Linked DNA regions of Homo sapiens: regions 1, 3, 4 and 5 are each linked to region 2. Evidence: promoter capture Hi-C in 16 types of primary human blood cells and fetal thymus (Javierre and others, 2016). All regions are on one chromosome and are shown on one strand. Each heading gives the region's core, a stretch centred on a gene start or on the middle of the fragment in contact. The rest is flanking DNA. Distances are from core to core; before and after follow the strand shown.

Region 1 (4,391 bases), core at 1,266-3,765, 2.9 Mb before region 2:
TGAATATTTATAGAGAAGGAAATTTTACTACAAATAGAAATCTATTCCATTATTTAAAAGTTCATACTGATAGAAGATTGACCCAAAGACCATCTCCCTCTAATTTCTACCTAAAAATCCAATTCTGCCCTTTGAATCAACAAAAGATAATTTTAGTACCTCTTCCAAATGACAGCTCTTCAATTACTTGAAATAGCTACCCTGTCTTCCCCTTATCTTTTTCTCAGATGGAATATCCACAATTGTTTCATTGTTTTTCTCATATGACATAGCTTTGGTCTCCCTCTGTGGGTTTTCTAGTTGGCTAGTGACTATTTAATGCTTTAATGTGATGCTTAAACTAATCATGGTTTTTTGTCTTTTTTATTTATTTATATTTTGAGACGGAGTCTCACTCCGTCACCCAGTCTGGAGTACAGTGGCGCAGTGGCACAATCTCAGCTCAGTGCAAGCTCCACCTCCCAGGTAGAAGTGATTCCCCTGTCTCAGCCTCCCGAGTAGCTGGGATTACAGGTGCCAGCCACCACGCCCGGCTAATTTTTTGTATTTTTAGTAGTGACGGGGTTTCACTGTATTAGCCAGGATGGTCTCCGATCTCCTGACCTCGTGATCTGCCCGCTTCAGACTCCCAAAGTGCTGGGATTACAGGCATGAGCCACTGTGCCCGGCCTAATCATGGTATTTTGAGATACATACTGAGCAGCACAGAGCATTGTGGGACTGCCTCCTTTGTTCCAGACATTATGCTTGTAATAATTGTGCCTAATTATATCAACTCCTACTTCAGAGACATTACACAATTAACTGCACTTCATAATACCTAGATCTTTTTCTGTTCACTATTTATCCAGGTTGCTCCCGTCCCATACCTGTGTTACATTAATTACTTTCCTTTCAGTTATGAACTTGGATTTTCACTTTTAAACAAACCCTTATTCCATGTATGTGTTCAATCACTCAAAATTCTCTCTTAATACTAGCAAATGTTCTCATGGTTTTAGTCATAATCCCTCAAATTTTTTGTTTATGTATATAAATTTTTTCTTCCCTCAGCACATTTGGAGTTTTTGATGTCCATACGGTATTCTAATGTTTTAAAACAGCTGTGATGTGCTCTTACTCCCGTTTTAAAATATTTTTCTTAAGCTTTATTATAAATAACAATTCCCTGAAGTAGAATTACTAAGAGGGTATGAGTGGTTCTAGAGTTTGCTCTCTAAAACTACTAATAATACCCTACTTAATGAGAAAATGAGGTCAGTTCAGGATAACTTAAGTTTAGTAAATGCTAGCTGGCCCCTGTTGACCATTACTTTCTTTTCTAAGAAACGTATACTGTTCTTAACAACCTGAGCCTATAGAATTGAATTTGCTTAAAGAGTGTTGGCATTTTCTTCCTAATTCCTCACTTTCTTGGGTATACCCCTTTTTTTAGGAGGTAAATCATTTCCCTGGTGAAAAATCATTCTCCTTTATGGAGGCAACTGAAGTAAAACCTTTAGTCATCTATCATTACAGTATCTTTCTTAGCTAGTGCTCCTATCCCTTACTTATTCTTGCTTTAAATAGACACTGTCCCCCCAAAAAGTACAAATTTCATAATATTTTCCACAAGCTTCATCTGCTTTTTAGGATTCAGGTATTTTAAAATAAATTCATGCTATTCTTAGGTTTGTACTTCAGCCCATAACTTCTTTCACCTTTTGGGTACTCTAAAGAATATCTCAAGTGCAGATTTCCTTGTGAAATCCACTTGGGTTCTTTAGATGGCCCCTCTCTTCTGATTAGATGTTTTGAATTCTATAGTCATAACTTTGGTGTTGGGCTTCCTCCCCCCCACTCCTCCCCTCACCCGAGATGGAGTCTTGCTCTGTCACTTAGGCTATAGTGCAGTGGTGTGATCTCGACTCACTGCAACTTCTGCCTCCCAGGCTCAAGCGATTCTCCTGCCTCAGTCTCCCGAGCAGCTGGGACTATAAGAACGTGCCACCACCATGCCCAGCTAATTTTTGTATTTTTAGTAGAGACGGGGTTTTACCATGTTGGCCAGGGTGGTCTCGAACTCCTGACCTCAAGTGATCTGCCTGCCTTGGCCTCCCAAAGTGCTGGGATTACAGGCTTGAGCCACCACGCCCGGCCACTTTGGCGTTTAGAATCTTCTGCTTTGCTTCTTGTGAACTGTGGGATCTATGGTTCATATTAATCTAGTATTACTCTCCTGCCACACAAATTGATACCTGCTTTGTCTACTTTGTTATGTCACATTACATTAAATACTCAACAGTAATTTTTTTCACAAATTTTTTTGAGTGCCTGCTGTGTGTCAGGCATTATTTTAGGTTATGAATACAATTATGAACAAGATAAAGTTCTCATATATCTTCTAGTGATGGAGACAGATGACTAGTGTAATATGTGAGTGATAAAAAGGCTACACAATAAAATGTAGCAGGTGTTAGGGGATAGATAGGGAGTAAATTTAGTGAGGAGAGGCCGCTTAGAGGTGGTAACATTTGAGCCATGACCTGAATGAAGAGCTAGAGGGAACCATGTAAAGAGCTGAAGGAACAATGTTCCAGGGAGGGGAAAGAGGATGTATCAGGGTCCTGGAAGAAAAGTAAGGTAACAGTATGGCTGCAGTGAGGTGCTCAAGCAAGAAAGCAGTGGAAGGGGTCAGAGGAGATAAGGGCCCAGATAAGTAATCTGGGCTGAATCTTAAATATAATAAAAACTGTTGGAATGTTTTCAGTAGGGAATGGAATGAGCAATCTTAAAATACTGCCATAGTTGCTATGTGGAGATTAGAATTTAGTAGATATGTGGGACTAAGGATTTATGAGTGATTTTCAGCTTTTTGGCTTGAGCATCTCTGAGGTTCCTTTACCGAAAATAGAGAAGATTTGTGGTAGGGCAAGTTTGGGGAAGAAAAGTCAAATTTTGTTTTAGACATAGTAAGTTTGAGATGCCTGTTAAGACATCCATGGTATGATGCTGATAGGTAGATACGAACCTGGAATATAGGGAATAGGTTAGGGCTGGAAACACAAATTGGGGATTCATCAGTTACTAAGGGTAGTATTTAAAGTTATAAATCTGGATGACATTATCGGGGTGAAATTAAAATCTGTTATTTGTAATATGAGGTACTATAACATTGTATTTTAACAATAAGCAGGAACTAAGTACTCAGTTAAGCATTTTCAACAACATCTGATAATAATAGGGATGTTACTTATCAGTAATCATGAATAGTTTTTCGCTGAGATTTTCTTGACAGTGTTCTGGATTTGAGCCAAATACTTCAAAATTATTCGTGTCCGAATCTCTTTTTTTACTTACTACCTCTTATTTAAAAAGCAGACAAAAGTCTACTTAGGTTTCAATAATTGCAAGCATCCACCAATGCTGTATTATATAAAGCTTGTATTTGGACATAGCAATACTAGAATGTCTTGTCAGCATATGAAAACAAGAACTTTTCACTTTACTTACCCAATATCTTGGATATATAGGATAATGACAGAGACTGGGATAGCAATAACCATAATATAGTTATAGTTATTCTAAATTAACCAAAGCTGTCTAATTCTTTTTTATTGGTATTTTAATAATAAATATCTCTGCTCTTTGAAAGAGGTACTAATTGTGCGTCTCTGTAATGAAAAACCGAGAGGAATTAAACTGGTTCAATAGTAACTGATTCCTGAGTACCACTGCCAGGTCTTACCCTGGCCAAAATTAGTAAAAGACTGATGTCTATATGTGGTTCAAAACTGCTTTTGTATTATCGTTGGTGAATGACCACTGAAAATATTAAAGCAGTGGTAAGATAATACAGTTGACTCTTGAACACCATGGGCGTTAGGGACATTGATTGCTCATGCAGTTGAAGATCTGTGTGTAACTTTTGACTCCTCCAAAACTTTACTCATAGCCTGCAGTTGTCTGAAGGCCTTAACAAATAACATAGTCAGCACATATTTTGCATGTTGTCTGTATTATATACTGACTGTATTCTTACCATAATCTAGAGAAAAGAAAATGTTATTAAAATCATAATGAAAATATATTTACTCTTCATTAAGTGGATCATAGTACAAGTCTTATCATTTTCATGTTGTATAGGCTGAGGAAGAGGAGGGGTTGGCCTTGCTGTCTCAGAGGTGGCAGAGGCTGAAGAAAATCCATGTACAAGTGAACCCATGCAGTTCAAACCTGTGTTGTTCAGGGTCAGCTGTAGTCTCTTAATCTTGACATTACTAAATATTTTTGTGCTGAGATTGTTCTTATTTTCAGTGAATTTAAAGTACTGAAAAATTCTAAACTTGTTTTCAGGTTACTAATAGGTAGAAATTTTTTAGTATGGATTAGTTTATAACTCATTTTAAATC
Region 2 (4,183 bases), core at 1,269-3,768:
TATGCTGATTGCTTGAGGCTACCCACACTGGTGCATAAATGACCAGTCTTTAATAATAATAGCAAACACATACGTTCCAAGCACAAGTACATTAACCCATACAATGGTTACAAAGACCACTTTACAGTTGAAGAAACAGGCAAAACCGGTTATTTTTAACTTGCTCAAATCCACACAGTAAGGAAGAAGAGAGGCCAATATTTTAATTTAGGAAACCTGGCTGCTTCAAAGCCTCATGCTGTTAAAAACCACACTACGCTGCCTTAAGATATGTCATTTGGGAAAGAAAGTTAACTCTTTTTCCAGTTGTTTAGATAAGCTGGGATCTATCATGAAAGTTTATCTAAAGATATAACTGAGCTTCCAGATGGGGTGACAGTACCAGGAGCACAGGCAGAGGTGTTCAGAAAGGAGAACTGGGAAGAGGCGGAAGAGACATTTTGCCACTTCTTTGTTTGCTTGGTGTTGGAAGTGACCGCTAATGAAAACCTGTCATGAAAATCAACAAGAGAATGCATTTCTTTTAAAGTAACGCATTCACAGCACAATCTTAAGTGCATTCTGAAGTCCTGCTGTCTTTTTTTTTTTTTTTTTTTTTTTGCGACGGAGTCTCACTCTGTCGCCAGGCTGGAGCGCAGTGGCGCCATCTCGGCTCACTGCAACCTCAGCCTCCCAGGTTCAAGGGATTCTCCTGTCTCAGCCTCCCGAGTAGCTGGGATTACAGACACCTGCCATCACGCCCAACTAATTTTTGTATTTTTAGTAGAGACGGGGTTTCACCTTGTTGGTCAGGCTGGTCTCGATCTCTTGACCTCGTGATCCGCCCGCCTCGGCATCCCAAAGTGCTGGGATTACAGGCGTGAGCCACCGCACCCGGCCTCTGTCTTAAACATCATAAAAACATAAGAACCCAAAAAAGATGGAGGGGAGTGCGCCCTTAGCTGCCCCAAACTGGCGTGGTGGGAGGCAGGGCAATTGGTCTAGTTTTCTGAGCCGTAGGATTAGGGCTCTGGGTGAGGCCAGAGTCCCTAAAGTTGTACCCATATCTGCGTGTTTGTATTTCCTGTTTGTAATTCCTCCTGTTTGTACTTTTTGTCTCTTATACGGTACACTTAAAGTTTCTCCACAAGGTGTTTCAGCATAAAGTACTCAAAAACTAAAAACGTTTAATTTCATTATTAGGTTAAGTGTGTAAAAAATGCCCCATCAAGGTTCTTGTACAAACTCCCATTATTCTCCCAGACTCCGAAGTGGCACTCCAGAATAATTTTACGTGGGTTAGCATCTTTTATAAAACGGGCAGGCAGAGCGGCTTATGAAATTAACCTTGGAAACCACGCGGCCACTCTTTCGGGAAATGCCTCCTATTTATGTTTACATGGGCCAGCAAGAGAATCCAAGGTTGGAAAGGTCATTCCTCACTACAGAGGCTCATCGCAATCACAGTTCCGTCTCCAAATTCGAGTTTTGGGTGTGAAGAGTTTATAAAGTCCAGCCGCTGTCCTCGCAGTGTTTGGGGTTAGCGGAGGGAGAGCTTGTTTGCGACCAAACTTGCCGCGCGGGGCGGCCGCTTGCAGGAACACTGCGGCCTTGTGCGCTCGGCGGTCTGAGCTCCTGCGAGGCCGAGAACGACGCCTAGCGCCCAGCGGCCTCCGCGAACAAAAAGCGACCGGTCGGAAGGTGCTGGCCCAGCCGCCCCTGGCGCTCGAGCCCGAATCCGGCCACAGACCATGAAGGGACGCCCGGCACCACGTGCGCGGGGATCCGCGGACGGGACGCTCCCCGGCACCTCCGGGGCTGGGCCGGCACCGCACGGTCCCACCCAGACAGTAGCTGCCCCGGGCCCCCAAAACAGCCGCTCCTAGCTCCTCCCTCCCAGCTCTGCGGTGGCCCAAGCCGCCCTCCGCGCGCTTGACCCAGAACAGTACGGAGTTCTGCACGAGCCGGGGGTGGGGCCTGTCTCAGCGCGCGGCGGTGGGGCGGGGCTTGGACACGGGCCCGGCTCAACTTGAGGGAGGCGGGGCTCGAGGCTCAGAGGAGTTGGAGCCCGCTCTGCGCGCTGCGGGACGGGGCACGGCGGAGCAGGGTTGGGTCCGCCTCGAGCGGGGAGGGTGATGCTGCACCACAGGGGCGGGGCTGGAGGTAAAGCGCGGAGCGGAGAGGGACCAGGCTCGGCACTGATTTGTGTTCAGGGCTAGCCCAGAGGGGCGGGGCCAGGTACGGGGCGCAGCCGGGAGCGGGAGGGGCGGTGCAGGACGGGGCCGGGCACGGCGCGGGAAGAGGCCAGGAGCAGCAACGGGTGCGGGGCGGGGCCGGGAGCGTCAAGGGGCGGGGAAGAGGGGGGAATGGGCGGGGCCGAGCTCTGCGAGGGGCGAGGTGGGGAATGCAGAGCGGGGCCGGACGCGGGAGCAGGGAGCTGGGCGGGGAGCGGGGCGGGGAGCTGGGCTGGGCTCGGCACGGGGCGGGGCGGAGGGTGGGGAGCGGAAAGCAGGACGCACGGCTCCCGCGGCCCGCTGGCTGCCCTTCCCGCCAGCGCAGGTGTGGGACGGGCGGCGGACTAGGCACAGAGCTGCGGGAGCAGGCACAGGGAGTGTGGAGCCTGGCGGCGGGACGGCGGGATCCGGTGGGAGCCGGAGTCCCGCCGAGGGGGGCTGGAGGTGGAGGGGCCCGGCGAGGCCGCGATGAAGCCGAGCGGCGAGGACCAGGCGGCGCTGGCGGCCGGCCCCTGGGAGGAGTGCTTCCAGGCGGCCGTGCAGCTGGCGCTGCGGGCAGGACAGGTGAGCGCCACGGCTGGGCTCGGAAGTCCGGGCGGAGCAGAAGCGCGTGGGCCTTGGGAGCCGCCTGGAGTGGCGGGGTCCTGGCGCGCAGCCGGCGGGCGCCCAGGGTCCGCACCCGAGGGCGCGGGGCGCGGAGCGGTGAAAGGAGCCTTTGTGCTGGTGTCCTGGACACACCTCCCGCGCCCTTCTCCAACTCCCGGAGCCCTGGCGGCGAGCCCCTCTGCTTTGGAGTTCAGCGGCTAACGTGACCTTTGCGTTTGAGTGAGTGGTCAGAATGTAGAAATCTCTCCAGGGGTAGCGTACGGGGCTGTTGATTTTTAAGGACCTATGAACGGATTCAGCTCGCGGTAGGAAGCCCGGGGCTAAGCCCCAGCCGCGTGGGGATCTGGCTGGGCTGCCGTTTGATTGTCCTGGCTGCAGCATCCTCAACCCAAACTTACTCTGACCCACACCCTGAAAGTGGCTCAGCTCCGCGACGGCCACGGACTCAGAGTTCAGGAGGAACTTGTTACACTGCCCGGAAGGATGAAAACCGAGCCGCAGAGCTACCGAAAACCAGCGAGCAGAGTTTAAAATGGAGTGCAGTTCCTCTCTTCTCTTTTTCATTTTTGTGATTGTTCCTTCCACTTTCCTCAGTACCTTTAGCAGTGCCTGACACACCGACGGTAGTGGTAGGCAAGCGAGTGTTGGTTCTCCCAGGACTGTAAGATGGCTTACTCCATGTTTGTCTCTTAGGATGTGATTGTGGGCCGGGCGCAGTGGCTCACGCCTGTAATCCCAGCACTTTGGGAGGCCGAGGCGGGTGGACCACTTGAGGTCAGGAGTTCGAGACCAGCCTGACCAACATGGTGAAACCCCGTCTCTACTGAAAATACAAAATTAGCTGGGCATGGTGGCGCGTGCCTTAGTTCCAGCTATTTGGGAGGCTGAGGCAGGAGAATCACTTGAACCTGGGAGGCGAAGGTTGCAGTGAGCTGAGATCGCGCCATTGCACACCAGCCTGGGCAACAAGAACAAAACTCCGTCTCAAAAAAAAAAAAAAAAAGTGATTGTTTTCGGGGATTTTAGAGACAGGAGGTGTGCTGAGAGCAGATTGGCCTTTTATATTCAAACATTTGTTTTCTTTTTTGAGGTCTGACAGTCCGAAAATGCTCTACCAGTTTCCCTAGATGTTGAAATCGGACTGTTATCAATCTTAAATTTGAAGTGAGTCGTCATAAAGTGGATAGTGCTTTACCTTGGTGCAAATCCTCTAATCCTGTTTAAAAATTAATCTGCAATACTAAGTAGACTCATTTTTTGTTGAAGGGCCTTCCTTCCCTTTGTAGTTTGAAGAACCCAAGCCTCAGACCGTAAAGAATGAATGAATTTAAGAGTGTTGCGAAACTCCACCCTTTGACCTTTCC
Region 3 (4,339 bases), core at 550-3,049, 2.4 Mb before region 2:
GTGAAGCCTTAGCCTTTCCTAGAGCTTTCATAGTTTTTCAAAGATACTTGATCTCTTTACTCACATCAGCTAAAGAGACATTTTCTCACACTGTGCTTAAGAAAGAAGAGAGAAAGAAAGAAGGGGAGGGAGGGAGGGAAGGAGGGAGGGAAAGAAAGGAAAAGAAAAGAAAAGAGAAGAAAAGAAAAGAAAAAAGAGAAGAAAAATACCTACAGAACTGAGCTCTATACAGAGTTACCCTGATTCAGGCTGTTCTTTCTACATTTACAGGAGCTGAACACTGCCCCGAGAATGCAACAGAACTTCAGCTCTGTCCCAAGGTCGTCAGCCACAGCTCCAAGTTTCTTAGCATCAGCTTTTTCTGAACAAAATAGTGCATCCTGCTGGAATCACTACTGTAAACTGAGTATAAAGGAAAATAAACCCTCTTTTTCTTATCCACTATGTTCCCTACTCCCGTGCTTTTCCCAGTGCTCCAGGTTAGTAGAGGCAAAAGAATTCCCCACTGATGAGGTACTACATCCTACACAATTTGTTCCACACATTTTAATTTCATTAAGAGAAAACAAAGATGTTTAAACAGTGAGCACTAAATGGATTAGAGTGGCAGTAGTAAATTTCCTTTGTGCCTTTCTCTTAGAATTTAGAAAGCTTTAGTTGCAATCCCATTCAAAGCAATATGGGAGAGGCTTCCACAATGCCTGGCACAGAGTACGTGTGGAGGAAATGCTTATCATTTTAGATGCTTATTATTTTAAATGTTTAAATGTTTATTATTCTGAATCTGAATGGATGAGTCAAGTTGAACCAGGAAATAAACCATAGCAAACCACATATTCAAACCCAGATAAGTTCAGTGGTTAACTGCCCTGACTCTAAGCTCCCTTCACACTAAGGCTGCTCTATGGTAATATGATTCAGAAGAAATTACTTCCATTCTCATTTCACTTCTCTGTAACTGTTTGTAACAAATTGCTTGTGTCTCTGGTCCTTGGTTCCTTCCTTTGGTGGGAAAAATATTAGCACAATGACACAATATAATTCCCAGACTAGATAGCTAATACATTTTCTAACTTTTTATTTAGAAACAATTACAGATTTACATGAAGTTTCAAATGATGTGCCAGGATGTCCTATGTCACTTTCACATCAGTTCCCCCAATGGTAATATTACCGTATATATGAAACATTTTTCAGAGCGTGTGCCAGGCATCATGTTAAGCGCTTTTTCTTTTTTTTTCTTTTTTTCTTTTTTTTTTTTTTTTCTGAGATGGAATCTCGCTCCATCACCCAGGCTGGAGTGCAGTTGCACAATCTCAGCTTGCTGCAATCTCAGCTTGCTGCAACCTCCGCCTCCCGGGTACAAGCGATTCTCCTGTCTCAGCCTCCTGAGTAGCTGGGACTACAGGCGCCCACCACCATACTCAGCTAATTTTTGTATATATATATATATATTTTTTTTTTTTTTTTGTACAGACGGGGTTTCACCATGTTGGCCAGGCTGGTCTCAAACTCCTGACCTCAAGTGATCCACCTGCCTCGGCCCCCCAAAGTGGTGGGATTACAGGTGTGAGCCACCGCGTCCAGCCTGTTAAGCACTTTTATGTGCTTTCTGATTATTTAAAACAGCCCTGTGAAGTAGAAATTGATATTACCATTTTAAAAATAAAGGAAATCGAAGCTCAGAAAGGTTGGGTATTTTGACAAAGATCAAAAAGCAAATGACCTGGCACAGTGGCTCACACCTGTAATCCCAGCACTTTGGGAGGCCGAGGTGGGTGGATCATTTGAGGCCAGGGGTTCGAGACCAGCCTGGCCAACATGGTGAAACCCTGTCTCTACTAAAAATACAAAAGTTAGCTGGGTGTGGTGGCACATGCCTGTAATCCCAGCTACTCGGGAGGCTGAGGCATTAGAATCTCTTGAACCCAGGAGGTGGAGTTTGCAGTGAGCCGAGATCACACCACTGCACTCTGGCCTGGGTGACAGAGTGAGACTGTCTCAAAAAAAAAAAAAAAAAAGAAAAGAAAGAAAGCAAGCAAGCAAGCAAATAGGGGAATTAGTATTCAAACACTGGAATCCTGATTCTAAATAATGGCAATAGCGTTTGCGTATCCTCACATTCATAGCTTTTCTGTCAAAATGGTCCTTCGTCAACTTCTTTCGCATTAAGAGAACTTCTAGTCTTTCAACATGTATGGTCTTGGTATAATCTCTAATTCCATCTAAGTTATCACTGTTCCCTGAGGATTTTGTCATTGAAACATTTTAGGAGTCACCTCTTCACTCCGTTTCTCACTCAATATCCTGACCAAGATATTAACCACTTCAAAACCATACTAATAACTTTTTAACTAGCCTGTTTCAATTATTCTGGCCAAGTATACAAAAATTATCTTTCTCATATAATATTTTGTTCATCACAATTCTGTGAAATTCCCAAGCAAGTGCCTTAACAGTGTCCTCTCACCAGCTGCCCTTGGCTTGAATGGCTGCAGTTTGCCACCATTTCATTATTCGGACAAATCATCCAGGTAGACAATCTTGAACTCAGGTGCCAACTCACTTCTCCCTCAAACGATGTTCTTGGTTTTTTAGGAGGTTTTGTTGTTGCTGCTGCTTGTAGGTATGTGGCAGGTGTTGGGAGGGGTGGAATTCTACATATTTTTTTTTTTTTGAGATGCGGTCTCACTTTGTTGCCCAGGCTAGTCTTGAACTGCTGGGTTCAAGCAATCCTCCCACTTTGGCCTCCCAAAGAGCTGGGATTACAGGTGTGAACCACCATGGCCGGCCGGAATTCTACATCTTTGTAACATTTATTCTTTTCTGAATTTTCCAATTACAAAAATACATGTTTTTGGAGTGCCCAGAAAAGTATAAAGAAAAAACTAAAATCTCCAAAAATTTAGAGATAATACCCCCAAACAGTTTATGTTTACCTATTTTTTAAAGCTTTCAAAGTCCTATATTTAAAAAAGTTTAGCCTAGGCCGGGCGCGGTGGCTCACGCCTGTAATCCCAGCACTTTGGGAGGCTGAGGTGGGCGGATCACGAGGTCAGGAGATTGAAACCACCCTGGCTAACATGGTGAAACCCCGTCTCTACTAAAAATGCAAAAAATTAGCCGGGCGTGATGGCGGGCGCCTGTAGTCCCAGCTACTCGGGAGGCTGAGGCAGGAGAATGGCATTAATCTGGGAGGCGAAGCTTGCAGTGAGCCAAGATCGCGCCACTGCACTCCAGCCTGGGCGACAGTGGGAGACTCCGTCTTGGGGGGAAAAAAGAAAAAAAAGTTTAGCCGGGCGTGGTGGCTCATGCCTGTAATCCCAGCACTTTGGGAGGCTGAGGAGGGTGGATCACCTAAGGTCAGGAGCTTGAGACCATCCTGACCAACATGGTGAAACCCTGTCTCTACTAAATAATAATAAAAAATTAGCCAGGTGTGGTGGCACATGCCTGTAATCTCAGCTACTTGGGAGGCTGAGGCAGGAGAATCTCTTGAACCTGGGAGGCAGAGGTTGCAGTGAGCCGAGATTGTGCCATTGCACTCCAGCCTGGGCAAAAAGAGCAAAACTCCGTTTAAAACAACAACAACAACAAAAAAAAACAAAAAACCCCAAAACTTTAAATAGCTTTATTGAGATATAAATTATAGACTATAAAATTTACCCATTTAGCTGGGCGAGGTGGCCAATGCCTGTAATCCCAACACTTTGGGAGACCAAGGCAGGCGGATTGCTTGAGCCCAAGAGTTCAAGACCAGCCTAGGCAACATGGTGCGGCCCCATCTCTACAAAAAATGCAAAAATTAGCTGGGTGTGGTGATGCACGCCTGTAGTCCCAGCTGCTCAGGAGGCTGAGGTGGGAGGATGGATTGAACCCAGGAGGTGGAGGCTGTAGTGAGTTGTGCTCGTGCCACTGCACTCCAGCCTGGGTGGCAGAATAAGACCCTGCCTCAAAAAAATAATAATAATAAATAAAATAAAATGTACCTATTTAAAATGTACAATTCTTTAGTTTTTAGAATATTCAGTTATGTGACCATCACATCTAATTTGAGAACATTTTCATAACCCCAGAAAGAAACACGTATCATTAACAGTCACTCCTGATTGCCACTACAACAACCCCGGTTCTGCGTAACCAGTAATGTATTTTCTGTCCCTATGGATTTCTCTATTCTGGACATTTCACATAAATGGATTTGTATAATACGTGGTCTTTTGTGACTGGCTTCTTTCACTTAGCTGAATGTGTTTAATATTCATCTATGTTTTAGCATGTATCAGTATTTCATTCTTTTTTTAAAAAATTCTTTTTATTAATGTCTATTGTCCGTTGT
Region 4 (3,972 bases), core at 1,284-3,783, 2.9 Mb before region 2:
CTAGGATTTCCCACTTTACCATGTCTGTTGTTCCAAACTCTCACTGAGGCCTGCCTTCAGGCTAAAAGATGTGAAGAAAAAACAAAAACCTCATTGGTTTTTTATGAATGTAGACTCCCCTTCTGTGTCTGCCTGTTTGGTTGTTCCCCAGTGCCTTCAGAAAGCTTTTGTTTTTATAAAATATTTTGTCCAGAGTTTATAGTTATTATTCAGTGGTTTGCCCTGACAGTGTCTACTTAGCCATACTAGAAGTATGCCATCTTGTGTGGTGGTACTTTTCCTTCCAAATTTTAAGTTTTGTACAATGAAATGTTTTCCCCATTCCATTAGAGATTCTTAAACTTGATTTTGTAATGTCCCAGTGTATCTCCATTGTGACTCAAAGGACTCTAAAGAAGTTAATGTAGGAAAAACACCCCAAAACATTTAGTTTTTTATTCCTGCTGTAACAAATTTCCACAAAACTTTGTGGCATAAAACATTATATTTTTAACCTTACAGTTCTGTAGGTTAAAAGTGACACAGGTCTCAGTGGGCTAAAATTAAAGTGTAGCCCGAGCTTCATTCCTTTTTGGAGGCTCTAGAGGTGAATGTCTTTTCTTGGCTTTTCCAGCTTCTAGAGGCTGCTCTTGGCCCCTTCTTTCATCTCCAAAGCCAGCAAAGGCAAGTCTAGTTCTTATATCACATCACTTCGACCCTCCTGGCATTCATCACATATCCTTCCTTGCCTCTTGGTAAGAACCCTGTGATTGATGACATTGGGCCCACCTAGATAATCCAGGATAATCTCCCTATTTTAAGGTCGGCTGATTAGCAGCCTTAATTCTCTTTTGTTGTGTAAACTAATACTCACAGGTTTCCAGGATTAGGATGTGGTTATCTTTGAGAGACCATTATTCTGCCTGCCATAGCCATAAATTAGCAGTTTAAGGAGAGAGAGAATGAACAAACTTTAGTTTATGCAGTGAGGTTCAGTAGGCCACTATTGCAAACTGCAGACTCGGATCTTTTTATTAGAGACTTGAACTCAGTTTCCATTTCAAAGTAATAAAAAGTTGACTTTCCTTTCTCTTTGGGCACTGTTTAGTACCTTAGTGCTCAGAACATTGAGTAATAAATTACAGGTCTGTTGCCCATGCTGTATAACCTATTGAGTGACAGTCAGTCTGATTTTCCAATGAGGAACCTTGTCACTAGTTTTTGAATCAGTTCAGGAAGCATGTTATAAATCAGTTGTAGGAAATGTCTTTCATTACAAAACATCAAAGACAGTTTACACACATTTTGGTTAGGGGGAAGGTGGCTTTATCTGTCGGATATTTTGCTAGGTGTTACCCCATTTTATGTGTGAGATATATGAAGATTGCTGGACAAATAAATGCCCAAGATCACACAGTAGTAAGGGCTGGGTTTATTCGCAAGTCCTGTTTTGTTTTGTTTTTAATCTACCTTTCTGAAGTTGCTCAAACAATTGAAGTTGCTAAGGGAAATCACTATGTATGGTGAAGATTTAAATTTAATAGGCACTCTAATAATAAAAGGTGTACCAGTGTAAGCAGACTAGGGAAATGATTTCACTTTGCTTAGGGAAAAGAGATGGAGGTTTAGGGGCTTTAAAGGGGTAGGAGATGGAGGTTTAGGGGCTTTAAAGGGGTAAGAGGAGGAGGTTAACCTTGGTCATGATGGATGAGTGGAAGGTGTAAGTTGAGATAATGCTGTAGGTATAGCTAGCTACATATACAAAGACACTGAAGTGCATGAGGTGAGACTGAACCCCGGGTCCACTGGATGGGCATTTCATTTCTATAAATTATTCTTGTCCTTAGAACAATTGGTTGTTGCTTATATCCATGTGGGATTTTAGATATCTAAAGAATGTTTTCTTTAATATATGGTCAAGATGGCTGGAATCATTAATGCTGTTATCTTAATCTGTAATGCACAGTGCCTGTAATACCTGGGCTCTTCATGCAGCTTTTCTATAATATAAAATTTAGCCAAATTACATTTGTTAATTCTCTCATAGTATGGTAAAAATTACTTACATTTTAACCTGAATTAACATTTTTAGGTAAATTACTGATGGAACTTTATTTGGAGGATGTTTGTAAAAGTCCTCCTATTTCTATCTGAAAATACAGCAAAACTTAAATTTTAGTGGTTAAGGCATGTACTGAAGTCAGGAAAATCTGTATGTGGCATTTCATTTATTTAGCTGTGTGAGCTAGGGAAAGTTTTTCCCCCTTCTTTGAGCCTTAATTTTCTCACCTGTAAAACAAGATAATAATACCTACTTGGTAGGCTTGCTGAGAGGAATAAATGGATTATAGTGTAGATTTGTAGTTTATAGCATGAGATCTGACATAGAGTAAGCATTTGTATTTATGATTATCCTTGAAATAGATTTCACAATTATTAACCCAGCATCAACTTTGTTAAAATAAAATGCACTGAAAAACTTTTGTTTTTCATGGAATTTTTTTTTTTTTTTTTTTGAGACAGAGTCTTACTCTGTTGCCCAGGCTGGAGTTCAGTGGCGTGATTTTGGCTCACTGCAACCTCTGCCTCCCGGGTTCAAGCGATTCTCCTGCCTCAGCCTCCCAAGTAGCTGGGATTAAAGGTGCGTGCCACCACACCCGGCTAATTTTTGTACTTTTAGTAGAGATGGGGTTTCACCATGTTGGCTAGGCTGGTCTCAAACTCCTGACCTCCAGTGATCCACCTGCCTCGGCTCTCAAAGTGCTGGGATTACAGGCATGAGCCACTGCACCCAGCCTCAAGGATTTTTTTTAAATGTAAAATTACCTAGTCTGAATGAATGTATTGCAGACCCTGACTTTTTTAGGAGGTTTCAGTTTTCTTGCTTGAGCTGGCAATAGGGGAGGCTGTAGGTAACAAGTCAGCAGATGTTGTGAACAGTGAGAGGAAGGCACGGAGGGACCTCAGACCACTTTGGATTCACTAGAGATGTTTCATGTGTGCACTGTGACTCTTGCACAGGCAAATAGATATCTTGGTGGATTTAATCTGTAAATATTAGGGATCATCTAAAAGGTATATTCCTTGCCTTAGTTGGCCTCTAATAAAGGAAAAAAGAAGGGTTTTTGAATTGCCTGACCTTAGTCTTGTCTTTCTGACTAATTAGATTACTGCTTCTGTCAGTTTTGTCTTACAGCTTCTTAGTCTCTTATTAACTTCTCTTAGCTGGATGCATTTATAATGCAAATGTCTGATAGAACTGAAAAGTGAGCTTCGTTGGATGGTAGTATTGTTTGAACAACAGAAGAAATTCAGAAAAAGAGTAGAGCCCATGAAAAGACAATTAAGGAATCCTATTGGGGAGAATATAAAACTTTAATTTTTGTCATTTTGAGCTATTGGTATTGCCAGTGACAGTAAAAGGGAAAGGCTGGTAGAAAGAGCACAGGGCCCTTAGATTGAAAGAGCCTGGGCTCAAAATCCAGGTCTGTCACTAATTGTGCGGTATGGGGCAAGTTACTGTCTTTGAGCCTGAGTTTCTCTAAATGTAAAATGGAAATAATGACTCACTACAGATTTTTTAGGAATCGACGAAAAAAAGTATGTAGAAGAGCTTAACACAGAGGCACTCAAGTTTACTTGACTCCAACGAAAAGGCAGTCACTGTTTTGGCCTGCTTAAATCTTTTCTTTTCCTTCTGAAACACTGAAAAAAAAATAAGCTAGAATTCAAACCCACTGTTAATTTTGAGCTGTATATTAGGTTATGATCTTATTTACTTAAAAAAGTTACTTGGTTGCATGCTTTTCTTCTTAAAAAAAGGAAGTTACTTGGATTTTCAATTGGACTCAATTGGAATTTCTTGAGGTATAGACATTTCAGAGTCTAATGAGAAGCTAGATTCTAGAGAAAAGACTAGACTGTACTCAAAGAAGGGGGTGGGTGGGAACTCAGCTTATTCTTTGAATCATTCCAGCCTAGCTAGGTTGTTTT
Region 5 (4,319 bases), core at 102-2,601, 2.1 Mb before region 2:
CCTCAGTATTTAAAAAAAAGTTTGTTTTATACAGTCGTTAACATATAAAAGTGCATTTACGATGTAATGAATTCTGAAGTAGATCACTTGTGTTAGTAAAGAAAAAGAAGTAGACGCTGCTTTACTTCAAATTCTGTTTAAACCTTGGAAGTAATTTTACCTAGATTTCAGATTTGAAACTTGGTATTTTATGTGAAAGATTTTTTTTGTCTTTAAAATTTTTTACATGATAAAATTCCATTTATAATGTATTACACATTTTATTTTTCTACCTATTAGCAGTTTTTTTAAATTTTTTTATTTTTTGAGACGGAGTCTTGCTCTGTTGCAGTGGCTCGATCTCGGCTCATTGCAGTCTCTGCCTCCCGGGTTCAAGCAATTCTCCTGCCTCAGTCTCCAGAGTAGCTGGAACTACAGGCATGCACTACCATGCCCAGCTAATTTTGAATTTTTTGTAGAGACGGGATTTTGCCAGGCTGGCCTCGAACTTCTGACCTCAGGTGATCCGCCTGCCTTGGCCTCCCAAAGTGCTGGGATTACAGGCGTGAGCCACCGCACCTGACCCCTATTAGCAGTTTTGTAGAAAAGTTTGAAGAAGAAAGTTTATAAAATGCTAAAATAAATTTCAAATATATTCTTAATGATCAGAGAGAGACGAAAATAAACCAAAATCCTTATGTTGAGAGTGGCCGATAACAATAAATCAACAAAGAAAATTAAGCTCTCTGAGGGATCGAGGGACGTATGGTGTTAACATCAGCTAGTGCATCTGCATAGAAGCAGCACGGGGCGGGGGGGAAATTAGAGAATACTCCTCTGGATGGATATTTAGCACATTTTTAGGTGTTTCCAGTCGGCTCTTCATGTTTCCCAGTGGCTATACAAAACGCCTGGGGCTCTAAAGACATGAATGTAATCTTTAATCATATATTACTCCATTCCTTAGTTTTTAGGTAACTCTCAATTGCTCACAGAATAAAAGTCAGATTTTTTTTTTTCAGTAAGACATACCATCTCTTCCATGATGTGCCTTCCTCTTGTAACACCTGTTAGTCTGTACACATCCATACTTTCTTCCCTGAGAAAGAAAAACCCTGCTCATACCCAAGGTTCTTTGTTCCTCTATTTTTGCTGGCTAAGGTAAAATTCCTTATGACTCAGACCATGTTCCATGAGATGTTTTCCTGCTGGTTTTCAATCACTGGCTGCATTGTTTTAACATATAAATACACCAGAGTCTTTGATTTTAAAAACAAATGAGCAGACATGTACTTCTTTGACCATAACTCTTTCTAGTATGTGTCTCTCCCTGTCCTTCATTTCCTTTGCATTCAGACTTTTTGGAAAAATAGTCCATATTCACTGTTTTTCCAGTTACTCACCTTTTATTCTCTCCTTAGTCCACGGTACTTTTATCCTCTCACTACTTATTGCTAACTTAATCATTTCCAGTTTTTATCTTACTTGACCTCCCCCTGGCTCTTGACAGTACCGACAGTTTCTCTAAAAAAAACCCTCAATTCTTCTGGCTTCTATAACAGCATTGTCTTCTAATTTTCTTATTTGCTCCATTTATTGTCTTATTTGTGGCATTTTCCTCAAATGCTCATGTTTCTGAGATTCTGATTTGGTTTCATTTATCTCACTCTGTGAACTTTCTTTGTTCATTTCATTGTTTTGAGGTTTTCTCTTTATCTTCCTTGCTCTCTGCAGGTATTGCTACACCCCCAAGTCTGTTTTAATTCACATTTTACCGTCAGTCAAGAGCACATACTCAAACAACTTATTCACTATTTAGATTTGAATATTGCACAGATATGATATTCTAAACTCAAAATATCTCAAAATTTTTACTACCCATGCCTACTCTTCTTCCCATATTTTTTATTTTTATTTTTGAGATGGGGTCTTGCTCAGTTGCTCAACCTGGAGTGCAGTGGCATGCACGTTCTTGGCTCACTGCAGCCGTGACCTCCTGGGCTCAAGTGATCCTCCTGAATAGCTAGGACTATAGGTGCATGCTACCATGCCCAGCTAATTTTTTACGTACATATGGGGGTGCCGCTGTGTTGCCCAGGCTGATCTCGAACTCCTGACCTTGCGTGATCCTCCTGCCTTGGCCTCCTAAAGTGCTGGGATTACAGGCCTGAGCCATTGCACTTGGCTTTATTTTTATTTTTTAGTGGCATCATGATTACTCACACCAGAAACAATATGCATATCTAATAATTAAAATCTGTGTTTCTATTTTTGACATAATCCCTTTGTCCACTTCAATGTGTTTCTACTTCCAAATTCATTTATTTTTAAAATTCATTCAATTATGGATCTAATTTGATTAGATTTGAGTATCTGCTACATGTCAGGTATGATGAATAAATATTGGAACTACAGTTGTGAGTGAAACACAAGCCATGTTTTCATGGGGCAGTTCTAACAAGAGAGATAGATACTAATAAAATAATCAGAAGAATAAAGTGTACCCCTGAAGAGCTATATAGTGCTACGAGAATGTAAAATAAGGGTCTTCGATCAGGCTGTCACAGTTGAACTAAGATTCCAACAATGAGTAAAAGTTATCCTGGTGAAGAAGAAAGGAAAATGCATGTTCAAATATCCGGTAGCAGGAGGGACTGTGAAACATTTACCATACTGAAAGAGGTCGGCGTGGCAGTGGTGAAAATAGTCAAGATGAATGTAGTGCTGGTTTAGTAGGTCAAGTTAGGAGTTTTGTTTTTATCCTGAGCCACTAGGGTTTTTAAGTGAGGGGAGGAGCAGTAAAGATGGAGGGAATCGAATAACATCACATTTGCATTTAAAAATAATTCTGGTAGCAATGTAAAATTATACTAGAGGGGAGAAAGAGATGAATTAGGCGGCTGCAGCAGTACTGGCAAGTGGTGACCCCTTGGACTGAGGTCATGGTATTGGAGGTGATGAAAAGTTAGGTTGAATCTGTGAGACTTGGTGGTCTCTATGTGCACTGAGAGAAAAGGGTATGAATGTCTGAGATTTCTGCTTATATAACTGGGGAAATGGTGGTGCTATTTGAGAAACGGTGGATGTCTGGATGAGGACGAAATGCATCTTATTTGGGGGTGTGTGAGAGAGATGGAGGAGGAGGACGTATGGTAGATATGTTTAGGTCTTTCAGGATATTAACATGAAGGTGGATTTGGTTAAATGGGTGTGTTACTTAAGAAAAGGTCTGGGCTTTGGATAATTTCCTTACTTCAGGTCCTTTTATATTTACTAGTCAGCAGACATCTCCTTTTCTTTTCTTTCTTTCTTTCATTTTTTTCTTGAGATGGAGTCTCGCTTTGTCACCCATGGTGGTGTGCAGTGGCGCTATCTCGGCTCACTGCAACCTCTGCCTCCCGAGTTCAAGCGATGCTCCTGCCTCAGCCTCCCAAGTAGCTGGGATTACAGGCGTGCACCACCATGCCTGGCTAATTTTTGTATTTTTAGTAGAGACGGGGTTTTGCCCTGTGGGCCAGGCTGGTCTCCCTGACCTCAAGTGATCCACCTGCCTCTGCCTCCCAAAGTGTTGGGATGACAGGCGTGAGCCACTGTGCCCAGCCTCCTTTATTGTCAGCTCTTTACCCTGTCCTCCACACTGCTGCTGGAACTACGCTTTGGAAAAAGGAGGCTGTTACTGTTAGTCCCTTGATTGAAGAACTCTAAATGTTTTCTTACTATGTACTTGAAAAATCCAAAATCCACTGCCTAACTCTCCAGCCTCAGTGTCTATTCTTTTTCTTCTGTCCATAACTTTGGCTATATGAAACCATTTTCCCAAACACTCCAGGCCACTGCAATGCTTTGCACAGGCTCTGCTTAGAATATTGTCCTCCCTCACGTCTGTCAGGCAGCCTCTTATTTCAAGAATCACTTCCTCTTGAGAAGTCGTTGATACTCTACCAGTCCAAGTTGGTCAGAGCCTTCATGCCACTGTTGAAGCTTGTGCTTACCTGTAATAACAGTACTTTCACATTAGATAGTAGTTAGGCTTACATATTCTCCCCTCCCAAACTATACTATGAACTCTGAGTATATACCTGTTAATGTTTGTAGTAACAAGTTCTGGCATCATAAAATGATTGCCCAGTAAGTGTTGATTGAATTAATAAGACTCAGATGATTTCTCCAGTAATTTTTATTTTTTGGTCTTGGATCTTGACTCAGTTGGAGTTTTCACCTGCTTTTGCAGGTAATAGTGCTTTCAAAATTTTGTACTTCCAGAAAAGGGGTGGTAGGCTATTTTGTAAAGAGCTGACTAACCCTAAAGGTAGGTTGTTTGATGTTTGTGTTTTTTTCAT

Evidence for each region. Contacts are between HindIII fragments. The CHiCAGO score rates a contact against its expected background, and 5 or more counts as called.
Region 1: a contact is called between a fragment that was not itself captured here and the fragment with the promoter of IMPA2 in region 2, in 1 of 17 cell types (neutrophils). The highest score is 7.0, in neutrophils.
Region 3: a contact is called between a fragment that was not itself captured here and the fragment with the promoter of IMPA2 in region 2, in 2 of 17 cell types (total CD8 T cells and neutrophils). The highest score is 8.3, in total CD8 T cells.
Region 4: a contact is called between a fragment that was not itself captured here and the fragment with the promoter of IMPA2 in region 2, in 1 of 17 cell types (neutrophils). The highest score is 8.4, in neutrophils.
Region 5: a contact is called between a fragment that was not itself captured here and the fragment with the promoter of IMPA2 in region 2, in 2 of 17 cell types (naive CD8 T cells and total CD4 T cells). The highest score is 6.5, in naive CD8 T cells.

The regions. Positions count from the first base shown.
Region 1 is chr18:9,127,102-9,131,492 of GRCh38, forward strand. All of the region lies in intron 7 of NDUFV2 (NADH:ubiquinone oxidoreductase core subunit V2), which reads left to right. All of the region lies in intron 2 of NDUFV2-AS1 (NDUFV2 antisense RNA 1), which reads right to left. Among named protein-coding and RNA genes, the nearest start is that of NDUFV2-AS1, 7.4 kb to the right of the region's middle. The HindIII fragment of the contact is 1,805 bases long and covers 1,614-3,418 here.
Region 2 is chr18:11,978,989-11,983,171 of GRCh38, forward strand. IMPA2 (inositol monophosphatase 2) reads left to right here and starts at 2,519. Exons shown (of 8, transcript NM_014214.3): 1 at 2,519-2,777. The coding sequence starts at 2,682. RefSeq lists silencers at 1,442-1,736, 1,577-3,056. The HindIII fragment of the contact is 12,350 bases long and covers 1-4,183 here.
Region 3 is chr18:9,618,925-9,623,263 of GRCh38, forward strand. It overlaps PPP4R1-AS1 (PPP4R1 antisense RNA 1), which reads left to right. Exons shown (of 3, transcript NR_110773.1): 3 at 271-439. Among named protein-coding and RNA genes, the nearest start is that of PPP4R1-AS1, 6.3 kb to the left of the region's middle. The HindIII fragment of the contact is 2,301 bases long and covers 650-2,950 here.
Region 4 is chr18:9,106,214-9,110,185 of GRCh38, forward strand. All of the region lies in intron 1 of NDUFV2 (NADH:ubiquinone oxidoreductase core subunit V2), which reads left to right. Among named protein-coding and RNA genes, the nearest start is that of NDUFV2, 5.5 kb to the left of the region's middle. The HindIII fragment of the contact is 4,743 bases long and covers 163-3,972 here.
Region 5 is chr18:9,917,017-9,921,335 of GRCh38, forward strand. All of the region lies in intron 1 of VAPA (VAMP associated protein A), which reads left to right. Among named protein-coding and RNA genes, the nearest start is that of VAPA, 5.2 kb to the left of the region's middle. The HindIII fragment of the contact is 5,213 bases long and covers 1-3,958 here.